Linked DNA regions of Homo sapiens: all the other regions are linked to region 4. The links are contacts of gene promoters, found by promoter capture Hi-C in blood cells and fetal thymus (Javierre and others, 2016). All regions are on one chromosome and are shown on one strand. Each heading gives the region's core, a stretch centred on a gene start or on the middle of the fragment in contact. The rest is flanking DNA. Distances are from core to core; before and after follow the strand shown. Region 1 has its middle 39 kb from the start of BPGM. Region 2 overlaps LOC124901750 (a long non-coding RNA gene). Region 3 holds the start of AKR1B1 (aldo-keto reductase family 1 member B). Region 4 holds the start of CYREN (cell cycle regulator of NHEJ).

Region 1 (3,643 bases), core at 106-2,605, 560 kb after region 4:
TGAGCCACTGTTCCTGGCCTAATTTTTGTATTTTTAGTAGAGATAGAATTTCACTATGTTGGCCAGGCTTGTCTCGAACTCCTGACCCCAAGTGATCCGCCCACCTTGACCTCACAAAGTTCTGGGATTATAGGCGTTAGCCACCGCGCCCGGCCAGTTTTTACGTTTTTTAATAATTGAAAAAAAAATCTAAAGAACAATAATATTTTATGATATGAAAATTATTTTAAATTAAAGCTGAATATTATAAATGAAGTTTTACTATAGCATAGCACACTTTTCATTTCCATATTGTCTATGGCTGCATTTGAGTTTCAACAGCAAAGTTGAAGAGTTGCAACAGGGACCATTTGTGAAATCTTCATCACTTCTTACTGCTGCTTAGTGAGTTGACTTGACAGTGTTTCAAGTGCCAAGCATACTTGTTTTACTTTTATTTTATTTTATCAGTGCATATCTTTCATGTCAAAACAAGAAAAGTCAACTTCAAATGTTGCACTTTTAAGTTACTGTGGCATCTGGCTTTTTTTTAATTGAATTAGATCGGAAAGCATGTGTTTAGTATGCACTGACACTATAACTATGCTAAAACAACAGAATATATGTCAACATTGCCAGACTAAGCACTCATCACAATATGTCCAATTCACAGGAAAGCAACAGGCAGAACAATTAGGAAATTTAAAATAGAATATCTTATTATAGTGGAATTTCTTCACAAGAATTACAAATGTAAATGAGGCTGCAACCAAACTTAGTTTCCAAGTGGTTCATTTGTTAGCAAGCAAGGAAACCCATTTATCAATGGTAAGCTAATTAAACTGTGTTTTTATTAGCTGAAGAAATGTGTCCGCAGAAAATAAACTTGTTCAAGACTGTGAGTCTTTTGGTAACAAAAGTTGATTGAAAAGTTGAGGACATTGGGAGCAACATCAATAGTTAAAAACAAAGTTAATTGTTCTGAGTATCTTTCCTTGTCTCTTGATGAATAGACAGATGCTACTGATACTGCTCAGCTGTTGTTTTTTACTTGAGGTATCAATGCTAAGTTTGAAGTAACTAAAGAATTAGGTTCTATGAATAGTCTGTATGGAATAACTACAAGTGAGAATAATATTTTCAAAGAAGTTGGTAAAATTTCTAATTCAGTATAATCTGAAGTAGAATCTGCTAAGATGTGCTACACGGTGGTAAAAATTTGTGTGAAGCAGACAAAGGGTTACATGGACTCATTTAAAAGCTTGTGAAAAAGTAAGATGTTAAAACCTGTAATCATTCATCAGTAGGTACTTTGCATAACATGTTTGATTCTATCATATGTTATTGAACAGGTCATGTCCAAAATGGACCTTATTCACTTTTGTGGTGTAAACATCTGCAGTTCTATGATTTTTTTGTCAAAAATAGAAGCTGAATATCCTGAATTGCCCTATCAACAAGAATTTAATGGCTTAGCAGTGGTAAAGCTTAATTGTGATTTTTTGGTTTTTGCTCAGGCTGAAACTAAAATTTTTCTAAACAAGAAGAGCTACTCTCAACCACTATTATTCTAGTCTGAATGACTTTGGAAATTTGTTTGCTAAATTTTGCTAATTTTTAGGTGAGACACAATAAGTGTTCTTATTTTTTAAAGCTATGCACTGTCATTGACAGATAAAAGGATATGATGTTTAGGATTTGTTTCAAAATAATCAGGGAAGTAAAAAAGTACAGATGAAATAATATTGTCCGTAAATGATACTAAAGCTGAGTGATATGTACACTACATTCAATACACTATTCCCTCTAACTTTCTATATGTTCAAAATTCCTATAATGAAAAATTAGGAAAAAATCAATATCCATTATTATAGCTGACAAAGAAGGAAGTCATCTTATAGATAGGCTGGCCTACAAAGATGTCCTAAGAATCAAGAGACAACCAGAATAGTCATCAAAGTGTCCATTATGGCAGCCAATCCTTCAGGCAGCTGAGAGCCTGGGAGTCGCTGCAAACTGGCTTGGAGCTAATGAGCCACATGGGAGTTAAATCAGAGTGGGGCAGGGGTGAGGCAAGCAGATGATTTAGGGTGAGAAGAAATAAAGAGTCCACAGAATAAGGAATGAAAAAAAATCTCTAGAAATCCTCTAGCTTGTGGGAATTAACAAAGGAATACTCTGGGTTGGCCAAAGACCCAGCTGACTGAAAACAGTGCAATCAAGAGCCAACTTACCCAGGAAACAGATGTGCAGGAATTCCAAATTTCCTGAAGTAGTATGGGAAAGTAGAGTAACTGACTCCCAAAATTTTTTACAAACTCAGAAAGGAGTGAAAAGAAGGTAGGCTTTGGAGAACTCCTGGATGAACATCTTGCTTACAGAAAGTTCACATGGAGAATCAATGGCAGGAAAGGTAAGAAGGGCACTGCTACATGTGGTGTGCTCATTTCAGACAATGAGCACACAGCAACATCCAGGATATTCTCCTGCCTTAGAAGGAATCACAACAAACTGTAAAATACCAGGAATGAGGAGATTTGTCCAGTGGAGATACGTTGGGGCAGTCACTGAAAGAGTGAAAATAGCTGCCTGGCTTGAGAAAGCCGCCTATTTGAAGCCATTCTCATCTAAAAGTATAGATCAGCAAGTCCAAAGTTATAATCATCACTCCATCCCCTACAATCATCGTGAGTGATTTTTTTCTTCAACACTCAAGTCAATTCCACCAACATTTTGCTGACACTGTATTGGGAAGTGTGGAAGATAAAAAATACGTATTACCGAAACGTGGACCCTAACACAGGGACACTCACCTCTAAGTGGAGAATGTAAATGGCCCTTGCAACAAACTGACCCTGAACTCCTTGACCTTCAACTTTAATCTTCTTCAGTCTTTTTCAGCCACACCCAACCATAGCCACTTCTTTGGTATTATCCTCCCTAGTACTCCTCCATCATCAAGATCTCAAACTCTGAAATTCTTCTAGACTACAAACTATTATTCTTCTGTCTTCCTGGTACCTCATAATTTTTTCTGTTTACCCTCGTCGTGAACTCCAGACCCCTTGAATGCTTCTATTCAAGCCGTCTCTTGGTTTCACTTGCCCCCTTCGTAGCCTAGACACCATAGACATGCGAAGCGACTAAAGACCACTAGGTGGCAGCAGAGCCCCAACTAGACTGTCCCCCAGCTTGGGCACCAAGTCAGATTATTAATATTTATAATGAAAGCCTGAAGTTTGAAGGGGTAAGACAATAGTGGAATTAAACAAACAATAGCAAATAATACAGGGAGGTCAGTCAGCTGGGGCCAAGAAGATCTTAAGCCCCATGCAAGTGTAAACCAGAGAAATGGTGAGACCTCAGCCATTGGGGAGATGACAGGTTACTCTCAGGTTAATTGTCTATAATCATCTCCTATCTGTCTACATGGGTAGCCTTTCCCCTGCTTTGAAACATTTCCTGCTAAACAACCCTTAACGATTTTCTATTTAAAGATCAGTTAATGTCACTAGGCCTCCTGGAATCCTTTGTACTTAGGCAATTCCCAGCACTAGATAAAATCAAACTTCTTGGCCAGGCATGGTGGCTCACGCCTGTAATCCCAGCTCTCAGGGAGACAAGAGGCGGGAGGATAGCTTAAGCCCAGGAGTTCGAGACCTGC
Region 2 (3,696 bases), core at 793-3,292, 540 kb after region 4:
TATGGACATTTATCCAAAGAAGATGTACAAATGGCCAACAGGCACATGAAAAAATGTTTAGCATTGTTAGTGACTAGGGAAATGCAAATTGAAACCATAATGAGATACCACCTCATACCCACTAGAATGGCTATCATCTTTCTAAAATGAAAAATAATGTGTTGGAAAGGACGTGGAGAAATTGGAGTCTTTGTACACTACTGGTGGGCATTTAAAATGGTACAGCCACTGTGGGAAAGAGTTTGATTTCATAACCTACTAATAGATTGTAACAGTTTGGTGATTCTTCAAAAAATTAAACATAGTATTGCCTTATGAACCAGTAATCCTGCTCCTAGGTATATACCCCTAAAGAACTGAAAGCAGATATTCAAATAAGTATTTGTACACAAATGTTCATAACAGCACTGCTCACTGTAGCCAAAAGGTGGAAGCAGCCTAAATGTCTATCAATGGATAGATGGTATATTCATACAATGTATATTCATACAATGAAATATTCAGCCACAAAAAGGAATGAATAACTGATACATGCTACAACTTGAATGAATCTCAAAAACATGCTAATTTAAAGAAGCCAGACACAAAATGCCGCATATTGTATGATTTCATTTATGTGGAATATCCAGAATCCATAGAGATAGATAGCAGGTTACTGATTTCCAGATGCTGTAGGGGAGGGAGGAATGGAAAGTGATTGCTTAGTGAATAGGGAGTTTCCTTTGTGGCTGATAAAAATGTTCTAGAAATAGATAGCGATGATGGTTGCACATCACTGTACTGAATGCCACTGAGTTGGGGTTAAATGATTAAATGGTGAATGTTGTGTTTTATGAAAGTTACCACATTAAAAAATTTCACAGATGCAAAGAAATTAGCAAACATGTAGGTAAATACAGACATTGTACATTGTATATTATGAGAATAAATGATTATAATAACATCTCATTTGTGTCGACTTAAAAATAAGAATAAAATCGTGCACACCATGAACACACAAGTTGAGGAAGGGGTAATCAGAGTTAAAGCATGTCCAAGTCCCTCTGAGGACCTACAAAAGCCATCTGCTCTCAAGTACTCTTGACTGATCCACAGTAAAAAAATGTTTTACATTTCCACACAGTGTACACACATATATTTATGACTGAAACAGGAATTTCATGAAATAACTTGCCCTAACCTTATGAGTGTTGTCCACTGATATTTTCTAATCTAATAAATTTAATTTCAAAAATGCTGATTGTGGCCATTAAGTTGATTGTATAACTCATAAGTGGATTGTAACCCATAGCTTGAAACACAGTGGTATAAAGAGCATGTGGTGGCACCCAAGTAAAGAGCTAGGCAAGAAGAGAAAATAGAGGAAAGGGTTTTGGTAGTTCAATATCCTCTCTAATGCTCTATAAGCAAGCATAGACAAATGGTAAATTGGCTGTTTTCCACAACCTTTTGAAGATATCTGTCTGCTTCAGTATTATAATCTCCATGGGGCAGAAGAATATTTCCACTAGTGCACTAGAAGCCTTTTAAACAATTCTGTATTTGAATAGTGTTCTGTGAATTGCCAAGACAAACTTTTCTTGAGTTATTCAATATGGATGCAGCTCATGGAAAGCATTTTAGATTCATACACATTGTAAACAGTCTACTTCAATTTGAAGAAATCAGATCTGATCTGTGGTCTTACACCTTTTTACCTTGGACAAGTCACTTCGTTTCTCTTGGTTTTAGTTCCCTCATTTGTAAAATTAAAGGGAACTTTTAAGTTCTCTTCCTAAAATAGAAATCTGTAATTCACTCTAAGTCTACACAGAGCCCCAACTTCACACACATACACATACACAAACAAGAATGCACTGCATTCAGGTGAAGAAAACTTAATGTAGATTTATTATTGAAATACCCACAGCTTTGCAATAATCTGTATTAAAATAAGAAGTGATGAATCAGATGATTTATTGAGCATATTTCCCACATATTTTCAGATACATAATTTTTTTATTTATAAGACATTTATTGTTTTTTAATTAGTTGCTGACTGGGTGTGGTTTAGTTTACTTATTGCAATGTCAGGAGCGTTACCAAGTTATGGAAGGGGATTATACTGGTCTGAGCCTGTACCATTAAACATGTCCATATCCCATGGTAGCTACATGGCTCATATTTAAATTCTTTTTCCAATTGTTGCCAAGTACTTCAAGTAATAATATTTGGTAAGTTATGTTTACACTTGAGATACAAACATCTGTTTTTTCCACCACAATTATTCGTTTGTGTTAGCTAGTCATTGTAACCATCCTTGCTGTAGAATCAGATGTGACTAAGAGATTCGGTGTTTTCAGTTCACCACTGTCTGGGAAGATTCCTATGAAATGAAAGAGTGGAAAACACACTCTCTGCTCCAGCCATACTGAACTATTTCCAGTTCCCTGAAAGCCTTTTGATCATTTTTCCTTATTGTCTTTTTTAAAACTTTTTTTTGTGGAAAATTTCAAGCATACATAAACAGAAGAATATAAAGGACATCACTCATCACTCAACTTGTAGTATCAATGTTCTGCCTCGCTTCTTTTATCTAAACCTCCACTCCAAACTCCTCCATCTGATTGTTATTGTTTTTACAGTTTTTAAGGTAAAATATACATACATTGAGATGCACAAGTATTAATTGAACAATTTGAGCTGTGTGTCTATACCCTCACCATATTTCCATCTCGTAAGAAAAAAAGTCCTCCCTTGGGAGCAATGCCCCAAACCCTCAAAGGCACTACTGAATTTTTTCACCTTAGATTAGCTTTACCTGTTCTAGAACTTCATATAAGTGGAAACATACAATATATACTCTGTTGTATGCAGCTTCTTTCCTCAGCATTATGTTTTATTCATGTTATTGGATGTATCAGTACAGTAATTCATTCTTTTTAATGCTAAGTGCTAATATACTACAACTTGTTTACCCATCCTGTTGTTGATGGACATTTGGGTCGTTTTCAATTTTTGACTACAGTGAATAGAGCTGCTATGAACATTCTTCTACAAGTCTTTTTGTGAACATGTATTTTCACTTACCTTGGATACTTACCTACAACTGCAATTGCTGAATCAGAAGATGTGTTTAACTTTATAAGAAACTGCCAAACTTTTTGTCAAAGTGGTTATATCATTTTATACTTCCATCAGCAATATATGTGAGTTTTAATTGTTCTGCATCCTTACCAATACTTGATACTGTCAGTCTTAGATTTTAGCTATTCTAGTGGGCATGAAGTAGAATAACATTGGGGAAATCACCACTTCAGACTCAATTTTTCCATCTACACAATGGTGCAGTAAGACTTAGAAGTCAAAGGAAATAAGTATTTGAAAGGGCTTTGTAAAGTGTAAAGCGTTGATCAATACAAAATATTCATCTTGACAGAAGCCAAGATACATGATGCTGAACATACCACGCAGTCCTCTGGGTATAAATATAGGTTGAAAAAGATTAGACTGGGAAATAAAATGTTTGTTACTTTGTAACCATTTCCTTTTTGTTATATTATTTTCTTCCTGGAAAATTATATATAGGAAGACAAATTCAGGTAGTTAATTAACTGGAACCCCCAATCATTCATTCTAATCACCGATAGGCATCCAATAAATGTTTAGTTAAGCAATGAAGTATTTAGTTACACATTTCTCATAAGTACATGAATG
Region 3 (3,717 bases), core at 653-3,152, 710 kb after region 4:
ATATGTATACTTATCAAAAGATGGGAGATCAAAAATCTTGAGATCAAAAATTTTGGTATGTGTACATTTTACAAAGATTACAGAGGCAATGGGGGATGTTAGGGGGCTATCACAATAGCATGTCCCAACTAGAGTGCTATTGTTGCTATAGAAATTCCACTGATACAACTTTTCATGTCTGCATGGCCCAGCCAAAATATTCTGGGTTTATTTATTTATTTTACAGACAGGGTCTTGCTATGTTGTCCAGGCTGGTCTCTAACTCCTGGGCTCAAGCAGTCATCCCACCTCAGCCTCCTGAGAAGCTGAGACTACAGGTATCACTCCAGCTTTAGACACAGTTATAACTTCATGCAATCAAGCTGTATACTCAATTATTATCAAACCAACAACAAAGCCTCTGATATTGAGTCCATGTCCCTAACAGACGACCCTTCTGTGTGTACCAACCTGGCCACTCAAGGTGTATCATTTTCACAAGAGATTAGCTCTTTGGATTTGGACCCAGGAGGTTCAATTGGCAGAGCAACCTCCAAGTCAAGAGGACTCTCATGGAGGAAGGAACTTGCTGTTTTACACAAAGCAAGTTCCCAGCTTTAGGCTCAAGTTCAAATTCTATTACTTGGGGACAAATGAATTTGCCCAATAGCAACAATTTTTACAAAAGTTACATGGAAAAATATCTGGGCTAGTCTGTTCTGTATAAATTTTTCCAGGAGGGAGCACTTTTAAAGAAAGCACCAAATGGAAAATCACCGGCATGGAGTTTAGAGAGACCTGGTGCTTGAGTCACTACCAGGCAGATGGAGTTCCCAATCTTGCATAATTAGGGGAAAGATCGGAGGGTGATGGAGCAGAAAGAGCAGTTGGGGTGAGGTAGAGTATCATGAAGAGAGGTTGTTGGAAAGAAACCAAAATTGTCTTCAAGGATCTTCAAGTGACTTTTCTTAGGCTATCTTGGAAAAATGTGTGTTTCTACCTGCCAATTAGGGTGATCAATTTACTATTTTGTACCTTCTAATTTGAAATACTGGAAGCTACAATATTAGAGTCAACTTTTTCTTCTGTGGTTTTCTGTCTGTTCACTTTTCTTCCTCTAGAGAGTTTTGATAAGTTACTGTACTGGAACTTACTGCTTTGATAGAGTCTCACTTTCCAAAGACTGATGAAATTTGTCTTACTGATTCTGAATGGACAGCCTTACTTTCCAAATTCTTCTGAGAGTTCTGGATCAAGCCCATCAAGGCTTTCTAACCTCAAGAACATCAAAGGATGCTGGCTTTTGGTGGAAGGCTTGCTGAACCACACCTAGTATGCACAGACACAGCTAACACCTAGAGTGGGGTGCAAAGAGAGATCTAGAAGGCTACAAAAAGTCTGGGCAAACCCATATTTTGTGAAGGTGCTTTGCAAAAGGATTGCAAGCCATTTTTCTGGCATGCACCTTTGTCTAAGAACAAAGTGCGGTAAACTATATGTGTAGTCAGTATGATTCACATAGATTAAGGACAAGGTATTCGTCAGATTCCCAAAGAGCATCAAACTGGGGTTGGACAACAAAGGCATTCTTCTGGGCTCTTAATGAAACCAAAACTTATTTCTAGTCTATGTATTTATGGGATGCCTGTTATTTTCGCTAAAGCATTCGCTTTCCCACCAGATACAGCAGCTGAGGAACTCCTTTCTGCCACGCGGGGCGCGGGCGAGCGTTGGGGGCGGAAAGAATCCGCTGCCACTAGGACCAGGCGGAAGAAGCATCCCCGCCGACCCTTGGGGAAGGCCGCCGCGGCACCCCCAGCGCAACCAATCAGAAGGCTCCTTCGCGCAGCGGCGCGCCAACCGCAGGCGCCCTTTCTGCCGACCTCACGGGCTATTTAAAGGTACGCGCCGCGGCCAAGGCCGCACCGTACTGGGCGGGGGTCTGGGGAGCGCAGCAGCCATGGCAAGCCGTCTCCTGCTCAACAACGGCGCCAAGATGCCCATCCTGGGGTTGGGTACCTGGAAGGTAGGTGCTCGTGGGGGCGCGGGCCCGGGGCTCGCCTCACACTCTCCGCGCGGCCTGTATTGGCGAGGGACCCCGAGTGACCCTGAGCAGCTCGCCCCGCGGACGCCCGGCGTGCTGGGAGCCACGCGCGGGCTTGCAGGGTCCCCAGCGGGCTGGGGTCGGCCTTGCAGAGACCGGGGGCCTTGGCTCCCCGGGTTGGCCCTGGGCGTCAGGGCAGCATCCTGCGAGTGGGGTTTGGGAGCAGCTCACGGGAGCCCCCGCCCTACCGCGGGCAACCCTTGATGGGCGGCCCACCAGTCCGCATTTTGGGTCCTAGCGGGCGCCCCAAGCGGCACAACGCGAGAGGGAGGCGGGGAAAGTGGGCTTCACAGACCGGTGGACCTCGGGCGCAGACAGGGACGTGGAGCCGTCGGCAAGGTGTGGGAGCGCAGACCCAGCCTCCTTTCCCTCGAGGCACCTGTAGCCCGGTTGCCTCACTTGTAAATAGTTGGTCTCAATCGTTTCGATTCTTGCCCTCCCTGAGGAATAAGCATCTCAAGCCGGTAGAGGGCAGAGAATTAGGTGGCGCGAGTTTGCCCGGACCCAGCTGTTAACAAGGCGCAGTGCGGAGCTCCTCGGCCAGGCGCCGCCTCGGGGTGCCCTGGGTCTGGAACTCGGGAGAAAAATCTGGGCACCCCGTAGCTAGTTGATAATTCAGGAGGCGCCAAGGTTAGCATTTTCCCTGTAAAACCTCAACACCACACAGCGTCCCCGAGAAGTGCCTAGCCGGATGAGAATGACAATAGGACATGAAACATCATAGGATATGAAAAATGATAATATGATATGAAAAACCAAAAATAATAGCCTGAGCCTGATTATCTGAAAATTGAGCAACAAAGGTGGTGGTATGGGAGCTGAGGCAAAACCTAGAATTTTTAACCTTCTAAGTATTGCATATTATATTCCACAGCCATAACCTGGGTTTCTCAGTTTCTGTTTTTGTTGTTTGCTTGTTTGTTTGTGACAGGGTCTCGTTGCCCAAGCTGGGGTGCAGTGGCACAATCATGGTTCATTGCAGCCTGGAACTCCTGGGCTCAAGTGATCCTCCTGCCTCAGCACTGCGGGTAGCTGGGACTACAGGCGCTCACCACCACACCTGGCTAATCTTTTTTCTTCCCCGCAGAGACAGTCTCCGCTTGTTGCTTAGGGTGATCTCCAATTCCTGGGCTCAAAGCGCTCCTCCCACCTCGCCTCCCAAAGCTACAGGTGTGAACCATCTGGCAGGCCCACGTCCCAGGTTTTTCTCTTAAAATTTGAATATGGGCCTGGGCGTTGGATATTTACACACAGACAAGGGAAGAAAACAACAGAAAGAACTGAGTGAACTGTGAGATGTTTGAAATAGGACAGAAGAGTTTACATGTACCCTAAAACCTGCTGTTGAAAATTAGTAAATATAAGGTAAGAAAAAGGTCATTTGCATCAGGGAGAGTGTTTCTTGGCCAGAATGATCAGGGTACGTGATTTGTTTCCTCCAAAAACTCCAGTGGTGTCTCTAAGGTTGTAATTGAATTACAACCATGACACCAAGCTAATTTCCATCTGTTGCATGTTATGCTCTTGGAATGGATGCAGAAGGATGCTTTCTTGGCAATAGCAAATACTTTCTAAGCATGATGCAACGCACAGATATATACATGTAACTGGAATAAAAATTACTTAACAGTACT
Region 4 (3,301 bases), core at 447-2,946:
CTTTTACCGTTTATACCAAACCAAAATCACGAAATTCAAAATCCGAGTACCAAAAAATTCAAGCCAAGTCAAAACCAAAACCAAAGTATCCAGCAATTCAAGTCAAGTCAAAACCAGAACAAGAGTGCCCATGCAGGCATGCTGTGGGTGATCAGGCCACGTTTCCACTCAGATGGAGTGGGGCAAGTTCCAAAGACTAGTCTTACCAAGTCAAGCCAAGTCAAAACCAGAACAAAAGTGCCAATACAGGCACACCGTGGGTGATCAGGCCACGCTTCCACTCACGTGGAGTGGGGCAAGTTCCAAAGACTAGTCTTACCAAGTCAAGCCAAGTCAAAACCAGAACAAAGATGTCAATACAGGCACACCGTGGGTGATCAGGCCATGCTTCCACTCACATGGAGTGGGGCAAGTTCCAAAAACTAGTCTTGACAAGCTTCAGATGTCTGGACTTCAAGTGCCAGTTCCTTCCCGGTGTTCAGCCAGTGTTAATCCTTCTCGGGAGCCTGCTATGCGCTGCTCTGGCAAGGCATTCCACCGGGGCCATTTCCTACCCGGGAGCGCTCTTTGGATTGCGTCAGTCAGGCTGGCCGGAGTCCTCTGCAGGGACGCTCCACAGGGCTTGTCAGTCACCTCGCTTCCTGGTCAGGGAACCAAGGACTGTAGCAGGACAAGCCACAGACAAAACCTCTCAGACACGGAGCTGTAGAAGAAAGGGCTTTATTCAGCTGGGAGCATTGGCAAGCTACTGCCTTAAAATCCGAGCTCCCCGAGTGCACAATTTCTGTCGCTTTTAAGAGCTCACAACACTAAAATTTCACATGAAAGGGTCGTGATTGATTTGAGCAAGCAAGGGGTACGTGACAGGGGCTGCATGCACCGATGGTCAGGGAGAAACAGAACAGGGCAGGGAGTTTCACAATGTTCTTCTATAGAATGTCTGGAATCTATGAATAACATCGGTTTCTAAGTCATGAGTTGATTTTTAACTACTAGGTTTAGGCCAGGCAGGCCCAGGTCCAGTTTTGGGCCTGGCGCTGGGCTGCCTGTCTTTGATTTCACTTCCTTTTTTTTTTAAAAAAAAAAAAAAAAACAGGTACTGAGTATAAAACAATATGAGAGGGTCTCTCTCTTCCCTCGCTTTAACTTTCGGAGGGCTGAAATTCTTTCTAGCCTTGGTTAATACAGCAATTCATTCCATTCTAGCTATTGTTATTTCTCTTACTATAATTTTACTATTAGTACTTACGCTATTCTATTATTTTCTTAATTTTCCACTTAATTAGGATAACAAACCGAGGCCGGGCTCCCATCCTCCTCAAGCACACGAGGGGGGCCTGGCCCAGCAGGGAGCTTCGCCTGGTTTCTGAGGGAATTCCCGGCGGGCCTTTCCAAAACATGCCCGTTCCCTTCCGCTAACTTCAGGGGCCAAGAATTGAACTTTCACCCTCCTCAAGCCGGTGGCGCTGCCTCGCTGGCGTTCCCAGCGCGCAGCCAACCGGATGCCAGCCGGCGGCATTACCACTGCCAGCATGGGGCGCCCGCGGACCTCCGACTGAGGCAGCTGCCGGGAGCCGGAAGTGTCCCGGGCGCCGGGACTGCGAGGGGGCCGGGAGTTCCCCAAGACCGGAAGTGTCCCGAGGCCGGGAGCCCGCGGGACCCCGGAGCGCGCGGGGCCGGAAGAGGCGGGCGGCCAGTGGAGGTCCGCAGAGTTTGGGCGCCAGGCGAGACGGCAGGGCTTAAAGTTCCGGGTGAGGCGTGGGTCCCACAACCGCTTGGAATTTGCCTCCCGGCTCCGCTCTGGAAGCTAAGAAGGGGCACGAGAGCCGGAGACGGGAACCTGAGAGCAGGGAAGCCAGTAGCCGGCCGGAGGAGCGCGCGGCCGCTCCAGTCGGAAGGAGCCGTTGCAGCCCTGCCCGGCGTGTGGCGGGGTCAGCGAGGCCCCTGCGGTGCTTCGCCCGCGCCTTCCGCTCCGCACTCACCCGCCCTCTGGGCCTCCCACAGGTCGGCGCCGCCAGCGGCGGGTACCGGCCCGCAGAGGGAGGGCGGGCTGTGAACTGGCAGCACATCGCGTTCCCGCGGGGCCCCCATTCTGCCCAGGCAGGGAGCGGCTGGGATGGGACTGAGGTCGGTCCGCGAGCGCGGTGCCCCAGAGACCCGGCTTCTGGAAGTTGCCGCGGCCTGCTCTTGGGGCCCAGAAGTAGGGCGGGGAGGCGCGGGGTCTGGAGTCTGCAGGACCTGGCTGCGAATCCAACCAGCTGATTTCAAACTTTTCTGTGATCTTCTGCAAGTTAACTAAGTCTCAGTTCCTCGTTTGCGAAATGTACTTAATAGGCACCCCAGGGTGAACTAAATTTGTCCGCACAGACTGCAGCATTGCGCTTGGGAGGCGCCTTAGGGGGTAGGAGTCACTAATATCACTGAGTTTTGACAGAAATGAAGGTGCATTGGCAAAGGTGTGCCCCATGGCCGGGCAGGTTAGGAGGAGGGCCTGGTAATATTTTTTCTTAAATTGTAAACAGCCATCTGGATGAGCAATGCATTATCAAATTATGATTCAGAGAGGACTATCGCTGACTACTCTTTTTTTTGGGCAAACCTCCGCTTCAGGAGCTTCTGGCTTGATTCCTAAGTGGAAGGTAGAGACCTAGGCCCTCTGAGTCACAACTCCATCTCTCTGGGTGAGGACTGAGCTCCAGGACTGCTGAGTGGAGGCAGAACAATTGGGATAGGGAAAAGAGAGGCCAAACTAGATCAGAGGCTGGCGTGGGCTTCAGAATCTACAGACTGGCACAGTTAATGCCTCCGGGCCCCTATTGCTGCTTCAAGTTTGACCAATCAGAAGTATCTTTAGCTTAAGGGCGGCGTGTTGGCCAATGAGACTTTATTGTGAAATAAAATGCCCTCAGTTTCATTTAACTGAGCCACCATAGAAGAGTAGAGAAATCGAGTTGGCCAGATGAGGGAGAGGCCATTAAGAGGTATTTTAGGGATTGAATGGGCTGGGCACCCAGAGGACAGTGGCATTTGGGGTGGTAATGAGAAGGAACATTAGGGGCCTCCGCCTCCTTCCGTTCCTCCTGTGCTGAGTCAGTCAGCACAGAGGCTGCAGGAGGTATCTCTGGTTGGCTTTGGCTGCCTGTAGGGGGCACCAGCTTTGGGGAGGTCAGAGGGCTCTCTCCTGAGCTGCTGTCCTGCCCACAATCACACCTGCCTGATGCCTGTGAATGGCCGTCTGAGTCTCTTGGGCCTTGGTCACTTCTGGCCTGCCCTGCACCGACCAGTAACTGTGCCTGATGAC

What was found. Contacts are between HindIII fragments. The CHiCAGO score rates a contact against its expected background, and 5 or more counts as called.
Region 1: a contact is called between a fragment that was not itself captured here and the fragment with the promoter of CYREN in region 4, in 3 of 17 cell types (total CD8 T cells, naive CD4 T cells and M1 macrophages). The highest score is 8.2, in total CD8 T cells.
Region 2: a fragment that was not itself captured here is called in contact with the fragment with the promoter of CYREN in region 4 in 1 of 17 cell types (total CD4 T cells); the score reaches 8.2 in total CD4 T cells.
Region 3: a contact is called between the fragment with the promoter of AKR1B1 here and the fragment with the promoter of CYREN in region 4, in 4 of 17 cell types (naive CD8 T cells, activated CD4 T cells, total B cells and 1 more). The highest score is 9.4, in naive CD8 T cells.

What each region holds. Positions count from the first base shown.
Region 1 is chr7:134,606,004-134,609,646 of GRCh38, reverse strand. No RefSeq gene overlaps it. Among named protein-coding and RNA genes, the nearest start is that of BPGM, 39 kb to the left of the region's middle. The HindIII fragment of the contact is 226 bases long and covers 1,243-1,468 here.
Region 2 is chr7:134,624,308-134,628,003 of GRCh38, reverse strand. All of the region lies in intron 1 of LOC124901750 (a long non-coding RNA gene), which reads left to right. Among named protein-coding and RNA genes, the nearest start is that of BPGM, 21 kb to the left of the region's middle. The HindIII fragment of the contact is 4,404 bases long and covers 1-3,696 here.
Region 3 is chr7:134,457,285-134,461,001 of GRCh38, reverse strand. It overlaps AKR1B1 (aldo-keto reductase family 1 member B), which reads left to right and starts at 1,902. Exons shown (of 10, transcript NM_001628.4): 1 at 1,902-2,005. The coding sequence starts at 1,940. RefSeq lists a silencer at 2,103-2,292. The HindIII fragment of the contact is 6,251 bases long and covers 1-3,717 here.
Region 4 is chr7:135,169,102-135,172,402 of GRCh38, reverse strand. CYREN (cell cycle regulator of NHEJ) reads left to right here and starts at 1,696. Exons shown (of 4, transcript NM_024033.4): 1 at 1,696-1,751. RefSeq lists enhancers at 956-1,175, 3,256-3,301 and a silencer at 1,556-2,165. The HindIII fragment of the contact is 3,007 bases long and covers 439-3,301 here.